2 separate regions of the Homo sapiens genome follow, and region 1 is linked to region 2. Evidence: promoter capture Hi-C in 16 types of primary human blood cells and fetal thymus (Javierre and others, 2016). All regions are on one chromosome and are shown on one strand. Each heading gives the region's core, a stretch centred on a gene start or on the middle of the fragment in contact. The rest is flanking DNA. Distances are from core to core; before and after follow the strand shown. Region 1 holds the start of BTN3A2 (butyrophilin subfamily 3 member A2). Region 2 holds the start of H1-2 (H1.2 linker histone, cluster member).

The links. Contacts are between HindIII fragments. The CHiCAGO score rates a contact against its expected background, and 5 or more counts as called.
Region 1: a contact is called between the fragment with the promoter of BTN3A2 here and the fragment with the promoter of H1-2 in region 2, in 1 of 17 cell types (neutrophils). The highest score is 10.0, in neutrophils.

Annotation. Positions count from the first base shown.
Region 1 is chr6:26,363,026-26,367,273 of GRCh38, reverse strand. It overlaps BTN3A2 (butyrophilin subfamily 3 member A2), which reads right to left and starts at 2,076. Exons shown (of 11, transcript NM_007047.5): 1 at 1,922-2,076. RefSeq lists an enhancer at 2,069-2,118. The HindIII fragment of the contact is 4,055 bases long and covers 1-3,857 here.
Region 2 is chr6:26,055,072-26,059,058 of GRCh38, reverse strand. H1-2 (H1.2 linker histone, cluster member) reads left to right here and starts at 2,589. Exons shown (of 1, transcript NM_005319.4): 1 at 2,589-3,319. The coding sequence starts at 2,631. The coding sequence ends at 3,272. RefSeq lists enhancers at 2,537-2,936, 3,027-3,076, 3,487-3,987 and a silencer at 3,567-3,636. The HindIII fragment of the contact is 9,556 bases long and covers 1-3,987 here.

The DNA.
Region 1 (4,248 bases), core at 827-3,326, 310 kb before region 2:
CCAACTGAACCAGCCACTCACAAGAGACTGGTTAGAGGAATGATGGCTCATCCCTAGGAGGAAATTCAATGCAGCAGTTAAAAAGAGTGATTTAATGTCACTAGCCTGGATAATGGAGATATACTAAGTGATTAAAAAGCACCTTGCAGAACTATACTAATGATTCAATTGAAAAACAAAAGCAAAGCTATACATTTCTGCATAACTATATATGTAAATGCCTGAAAAAGTCTAAAATGATGGATGCTAAACTGAAAATTGGAGGTTAAGTGAGTGAAAGGACGCTTTGGCCTTTTGCTTCCTTTACTTTTAAAATTATTGGAATGCTTTAAGTTTAAAATTTTCATGTATTAGTTAATAACTAATTATTATGAGGAATAATAGTGACTGGAACATATTAGCTGCTCAGTAAATACTAACTCCTCAACAGTTTCTCCCAAAACAAAGGAGCATGAGGCCTGCAGCCATCATACCAGCTGCTGTGGGTCTGGGAATGGCCTCTGAGAACAAGGTCTGCAGATGGAGGTGGGGAGAGATGTAGAGGAAGCAAGGGAACAGAGGTCTGTGCAGCTGGTCATGCTCCACCCCTGCCTGGATCTTGCATCCACCATCAGACTAAACATTATATTTCACCACATCTTCTGCTCCTCGAAACTGCTCTTTATTCTCCTAAGGAGAAGGAGGTATTATTAAGCTAAGCTAAAAATTTCTCTGCTGTCCTCAGAGGGAGAACTTTTATTTTTTAGGTTATTTATTATTCATTCTTTCTACTATAGACAATTTTGCCAAAGAAAAAAATATAAAGGAATAAAACCTTAAATACTCTGTAGTTATATACTTTGCTAATGGAAGTGGAAATGTTTCTGGAAGCATTTGGCCATGTACACATGGCAAGTGCCTTTAAAATGTTGTATTATTTGCCCCCAAAATTCCAACTATAAAAGTTAGTGTTGAAGAAAAAAATTTAGAGATTGATGCAAATATTTATGGATAAGGCTGTTCAATCTAGTAAAATCTACAGTAACAAAATGTAGAAACTGAAAAATCCAAAATAAAGAGTTTTAAAAATAATTCGGGTTTTTTATTTGTTTGTTTGTTCTTTTTTCTTCTTTAGGAGCGGCTTTCTGAGTCAGAGTAGGCTCACAGAGACTCCCAATAATTATATATTCATACAATGTAGTAGCTTGTAACCATGGGAAATCATGCTTTAGGTTTTGGGGAAATGATGAATGGAAAGAAAACCAAGTACTATCCCTAAAAGATACCAAAAATGGTTTAATATAAGGATCCAGTGTTATTAAAATTATAAAGAATTTCACTTAATTAAAATTATGATTCCTAATGGTTACATGGAACATGTTTTATGACTGAACCATGCATTGTTTGTCTATTCCCCACCTGTTGAATATGTATGTTGGTTCAGATTTTACTATATTATAAATACTTCTGTAATAAACACATTTACATATAAATCTATGAGGCACATCTCTTTTTTCTTCTTCTTCTTCAGAATTTCTCAGAATAGATGCCTTGAGTTGGCCAGAACAGATTTTAAGGGTTTTTTGTTTGTTTGTTTGTTTGCCCTTTTCTGACCACAATACGTTAAGAACATGCAGTTGGAATATTTCTTCATTCATGTTGTCTCCCTTTCCTTCCACTAAATCCCAACCTCTGCAGTTCCTTATACTTTGCAGTACTTCTCCCGTCTTCCCACGTGCCCATATGTGCATGTGCGAGTGTGCACATGTACACATGTACACACACACACACACACACACACACACACACACACACACACAGGCACTGCACCCCTTTCTCTGGGAGAGTACTCTCCCTGCATGCCCACTCACCACTCTCAGCGATTCAGCCCCGCTCCTCCCATGCGTTGTAGCCCAGGCTCTAATCAATTTCCTGCACTTACCCCTTGGTATTCCCATTGGAGAATCAGAGCCCACAGAATAAAGACGGTCAATCAATAATTCTCCATTCTTTCTATTATGGCTTAGCCTCTCATCCGGAAGAAAGGAAAAAGAGAAAGCAAATATTGTCTTCTCACCATGAGAAACAGTAAGAGTCGCTCTTTGGAAGAATTAGTTTTTTGATTGGCTCAGAGGTGATGTTTCTCATCAGTTGCTGGGCAGAAACCACTGAGGAACGTTGAAATGAAAACTGAAAGTACATTGAATTGTACACGTTGAGGAAAAACTCCAGCCCTACCTCCCTTAGTGTTTGTGTTTCTGTGTTTATCTATTTGAATCATTCTTGTGCGTGGATGTATATAAGTATTTCTTTATATTCACCTGTCTCGTGTCTTTTACATGGTAATAGAAATATTAGCAGAATGGAGTAGGAAAGTAAAAAAATTTAATGTGCAAAGAGAGGAAGATGTGCACTAATTAAGATGCTTCTGTGGCAGTTTGCTTGCATGTAGATAGGTACGTAGAAGAGGAGGATCTTTTTTACAGAGCCTAATAAAGGTATGAATGGAAAGAAAATGAGACAAACTGCACCTCTTTAAGAACTTCTGGCATTTAGGCTTAGGATATGGTATCAAATAATATAATTTTTCTGATTTCCAGAGGCAGTGCTGCTTGACATTGTTTTACCTTTCCCAGGAAATTCTTACTGCAGATCTTTCTGAGCATCTTCATTCACCCTCAGCTCCTGGTTTGTGCTATATTGTATTTTCTTGGGTATTTGTTTCTCACGCTGCCAGTGGAGTACATATTCTCTGAAGCTAGACACTCCATAGGCTGTGGTCTCTGTAAGGCTCGTTTCCTGTACACCATCTCTGTAAGGAGTTTATGGGACAATCTTGTTCTCCCTGTGGCTTACGACCTCAAAACACACTTTTTTGGGCTGCAAGCCAGAAATCTCCTAGAGCTAATATGTGACTGGAGCTGATGGGATTTGATTATATTGCAACAGTTTGAATTTAGGCTGTGTGGTATCTGCTTGAGATGGCTGGTTGCTTCTGCAGCGTGCATGCCCCCTTCTTCTTAGTGACAAGGCCTAATTTTCTGGGGTACTGCATCCTGCTCTTCCCCCTTGAAGATAGGGCAGGCCAAGGGACTAAGTTGGAGCCAGCGGTTTGTAGGTGAAAGTTGTGGGCTTGTACTTCTCCCAGAAATCCTTCAAAGGGAGGCCAAAATAGCTGGGAGTGTGAGGGTACACTCTCCCTTCTTCCTTCTTCCTCTTGCCTAGAACATGGACTTTGGACCCGGAGGTGCAGTAGCCCACCCTGGGACCATGAGGCAGCCTTGAGGTTGGAAGCCACACACTGGGACAGCAGAGAATGAAGTCAGAAGCAGGCTGGGGCATGAATGACATATCTGAGGTGCCAGATCAGCCCTGGACTGTCACCATCTAAATTTATTTAAAAAATTTTTTCTTTTAAAATATTTTATTATATATTAGTACTCAGGGTAAATTTCCAAATAAGTTTGTTTTTCATGAAAGGAAAACAAATCCTTGTTTTATTTAAGCCAGTGGTACTTCTGGTCTCTGTTATCAACAGAAAAACACAATTTTTCCCTCCCCCTTCCCCCTCCCCAACAGTTTATTATAAAACTTCTAAAACATATAGCAAAGGTGAAAGAATTTCAGTAAATTCCAATATATCTACCATGTAGATTGTATAATTAATATTTTAGTTTCTTACTTTATTATAAATCCATCCTGCTGTTCACCCCTATTCATCCATCAATATTTGTTTATTTGTTCATTTGTTTATTTTTAAATTCAGACTCTATCAGAAGCTGTGCTGCTTGAGATCGTATTAGTAAGAATGAACATCCCACCTTTGCCTGGAGGGTCCAAGTCACTTTGACACAAAGAAGCAGCCAATGTGCTAAGCTTCAGATTAGGAGTTTCTGAGCCCAACTCTTCATATCTCTGAACTTTGTAGTTTCCAAACTATGAGACCCCTAAGTTCATTTCTCACTCAATGTCTTTGTTTCTTCAGCTATGGGTAGGGATGTGACCTGCTTCTTAAGTTGTTTGGGGAGAACCTAGCACAGCACCTGCACATATTAACTCTTTATGAATGTCATTATTTTCCATTATGAAAGGTTCGGTATCAGCTGGTGCCTGTTGTGGAGTTGGAGTTTTAGTTTGAAGGTGAAGAGAAAATCTTTTTTAAAAATGGCATGAGAAAATGTGTACATTGGAAACAATAGTGTGAAAGGTGCCAGGGAAGATGGGAAGTAAGAGTGCCATTTACATTGTATTCTGTGGAATGATGACGCT
Region 2 (3,987 bases), core at 1,340-3,839:
ACCAGGACACCAATTTATAGTGAAAGAAGGTCCAGTTACCTGGTAATCAAGACGTTTCATAGCTATTTTCATGATGGATATACTTAGCTGAGTTTTAAATGAGAAGGGGGTTCATTGCACATAGAATAAGATCTAAGTGAAATGTTTATTTTATTTTTTTTTTTTTGACATGGAGTCTTGCTCTGTTGCCCAGGCTGGAGTGCAATGAGGCAATCTCGGCTTCTGGAGTGCAATGAGGCAATCTCGGCTTCTGGAGTGCAACGAGGCAATCTCGGCTCACTGCAACCTCCACCTCCCGGGTTCAAATGATTCTCCTGCCTCAGTTTCCTGAGTAGCTGGGATTAGAGTTGCCTGCCACCACGCCAGGCTAATTTTTGTATTTTTTTTAGTAGAGATGGGGTTTCACCATGCTGGCCAGGCTGGTCTCGAACTCCTGACCTCAGGCGATCTGCCCGCCTCAGCCTCCCAAAGTGCTAGGATTACAGGCGTGAGCCACCAAGCCTGGCCTAAGTGACATGTTCTTATATTGTTCCTTTCTTTCTTTTTTTTTCGACTGAGTCTCACCCTGTTGCACAGGCTGGAGTGCAGTGGCGTCATTTCGGCTCATTGCAACCTCTGCTTCCCGGGTTCAAGCGATTCCCTTGCCTCAGCCTCCTGAGTGCCACCACCCCCAGCTAATTTTTGTACTTTTAGTAGAGATGGTGTTTCACCATGTCGGCTAGGCTGATCTCAAACTCCTGGCCTCAGGTGATCCGCCCCCGAGTCTCCCAAAGTGCTAGGATTACAGGCGTGGGCCACGGGGCCCAGCCTTATATTATTTCTTTTACTACAATATATTAGTATGATGCAGGTGCTTCAATTGTTTATACACTTTCCATAATTTTGTATAATTCTTATACCCTGTCACTCTGAGGAATAGCCGGTCTAAGTGTTTTTCCACCACTGCTAATTCATCCATCACTAATCTCATTAGACTGTTAATTCCCAGAGGACATAAGCACACAAGCAGACAATGTTTACAAATGTTGGACAAATGTTATTTAATAAAACAATGGGGTCACCCTTAGTCTAAAAGATGTTTCACTTTTCATTTGTCATTGAACTCTTATTTGTAGGTTCCCTTTTGACTTTCCCACAATCTAAGGCTGTTCTCTTTAACACATATTTTCATGAAAACATATATTTGAGCAGAAATTGTTGGGGAGTTGTAATATTACCTTTGTCCCTAAATATGAATCTATAATTATATCAAATATATGGGCAGACAATTTACTTTGCCTTTAATCTCAAGAAAAAAATAGCAATTACTTGGGGTCGGAGAGTAAAATAAGAAGTAGTGAACCTTAAAGTAGCAAACTTTAGAACAGAATAGTTTCAGAGGGGATGAGAAGAGGTGATTTTTCAGCTCATCAACAACAGATCTTATAATAAATTACATGTTCTGGTACTTTTCTTGTCTTTCTGTGTTAAATTTTGCTATTTAAAAAAATAAATTTCAAATACATTGTTCATCTTAAAAGTCAAGAGTGTGTTTTATTAAAGTCAGTTGCTTTATTTGCAACTCAAAAGATATATTTGAGTTCCCAACTGGAGATTGTCCTATATGGTAACTTGCGTAAGGTATGGTTACTGAAAGTAACCTACAATTTTCATGGGCTGAAATTCATTTCTATATTGCAGCGTACAAAAATAAATAAATAAAAAATGCTTGTTTTCTTTGAAAACATATTATCTCAGTGCCTCTAACTGCCAAATCTATTGGCTTTTTTGCAGGCTTAAGGGCTCTCCCTTGTTCCTTTATGATCTCTATCTTGAGGGCCAGACCTCCTGCCTTACACAACTCAGAGGGGGACCTCAGAGCTCTTTAAAAAGAGCCCAATTTCTCGCCTGTAGAGAAGTGAAAAGGATGCCCCACCCCCATCTATGAAAAGAGGGATTTGATAGTTTCAATGTCTTCAAATCAAAGATTTAAGTCTGTAGCCCCCCACCACCCCGGACCCTAGCAAGGCTCATGAACCCCCTCCCATCCCGCCCTAATTGCTTTGGACTGGCCGTGGAATCCTTGTCCCAGTCCACAGTTCCTGTGCGACTGCACGAAGAATTCACAGAGGACCTGTGTTACTTCCCTTGTGAAGAAACAGAATTATCATGAAAATTTAGGTGGAAACCATTTCGCTTTTTTCTTCAAAAATAAGGGAAGCATGTGCCCAACCACCCCTGGGAAAAAGAACCTTCAGGGGCAAAGGAGCGAACAGGTAATTTATAAGAAAAACAGAAAGTGGTCTCTGACTGCCCCAGACTTCCTTCGGAGTTGGGGGAATTGGGGACGCCTGGACGCGTTGTTTTTGTGTTTGTGGAAAAAATAAATGAAGAGCATGAAGCCCGAGGCTTCTGAGATCCTTTCCTGACCAAACCCAAGTGATTTGGTGCGGGGAATTTTAATATTTTTCCCCTTTTGTGAGGTGGAACAAACACAACTTGGGAGCAGCGCAGCGGCTCAGAGCCTGCCAGCCAGGCGGGCGACCAGAGCACCAATCAGAGCGCGCCTGCGCTCTATATATACAGCGGCCCTGCCCAGGCGCTGCTTCATCGGCGCTTTGCCACTTGTACCCGAGTTTTTGATTCTCAACATGTCCGAGACTGCTCCTGCCGCTCCCGCTGCCGCGCCTCCTGCGGAGAAGGCCCCTGTAAAGAAGAAGGCGGCCAAAAAGGCTGGGGGTACGCCTCGTAAGGCGTCTGGTCCCCCGGTGTCAGAGCTCATCACCAAGGCTGTGGCCGCCTCTAAAGAGCGTAGCGGAGTTTCTCTGGCTGCTCTGAAAAAAGCGTTGGCTGCCGCCGGCTATGATGTGGAGAAAAACAACAGCCGTATCAAACTTGGTCTCAAGAGCCTGGTGAGCAAGGGCACTCTGGTGCAAACGAAAGGCACCGGTGCTTCTGGCTCCTTTAAACTCAACAAGAAGGCAGCCTCCGGGGAAGCCAAGCCCAAGGTTAAAAAGGCGGGCGGAACCAAACCTAAGAAGCCAGTTGGGGCAGCCAAGAAGCCCAAGAAGGCGGCTGGCGGCGCAACTCCGAAGAAGAGCGCTAAGAAAACACCGAAGAAAGCGAAGAAGCCGGCCGCGGCCACTGTAACCAAGAAAGTGGCTAAGAGCCCAAAGAAGGCCAAGGTTGCGAAGCCCAAGAAAGCTGCCAAAAGTGCTGCTAAGGCTGTGAAGCCCAAGGCCGCTAAGCCCAAGGTTGTCAAGCCTAAGAAGGCGGCGCCCAAGAAGAAATAGGCGAACGCCTACTTCTAAAACCCAAAAGGCTCTTTTCAGAGCCACCACTGATCTCAATAAAAGAGCTGGATAATTTCTTTACTATCTGCCTTTTCTTGTTCTGCCCTGTTACTTAAGGTTAGTCGTATGGGAGTTACTGAGGTATCAGACGAATTGGGTGACGGGGTTGGAGAGTGGCCGTGGTGAGGTTACAGCATTTAAACCTTTATTGCGGCTTCTAGGTCCCTGACCGGAGGCTTTTCTCGCTGGCGGATGGTTTTGGGATGGCAGTCCCGCCCCAGGCCTGTGAACGGCAGAAAAGACCGCAAAACAAGAGCCAGTTTCTTAGTCTAAAGGGATGTCCGGATTGGACTAAAAAATTTTCAAAAGTCCCGCCCTGCTCCCGGGTTGGTCCGTTCTTCTAGTACATGACTTTCATTCTGTATTTAATTGGATGGTGGAAGACGTTGCTTATTCTGTGTTTTTTGCTTTACTGTGACTTAAAAGTTTTGCCTCTTTTCTCTTTATATTAATGTCTGGGATTTCGGACGCTTTCCATGTTGTTGGTAGTCAAGTTGATGTCTCCTGGAGGTAGTGGCAACATCCAGCCCTGGGAGGAGAGTGCGTGCAGGTACCTTTGTCCTACATTCCTCTGCTGTTAATTTCTCATTCCTGTGGCAACGAAGGAATGCATTTAAAAAACAGCCACAACAGCGGCAATAGCCCTTCCTCCACC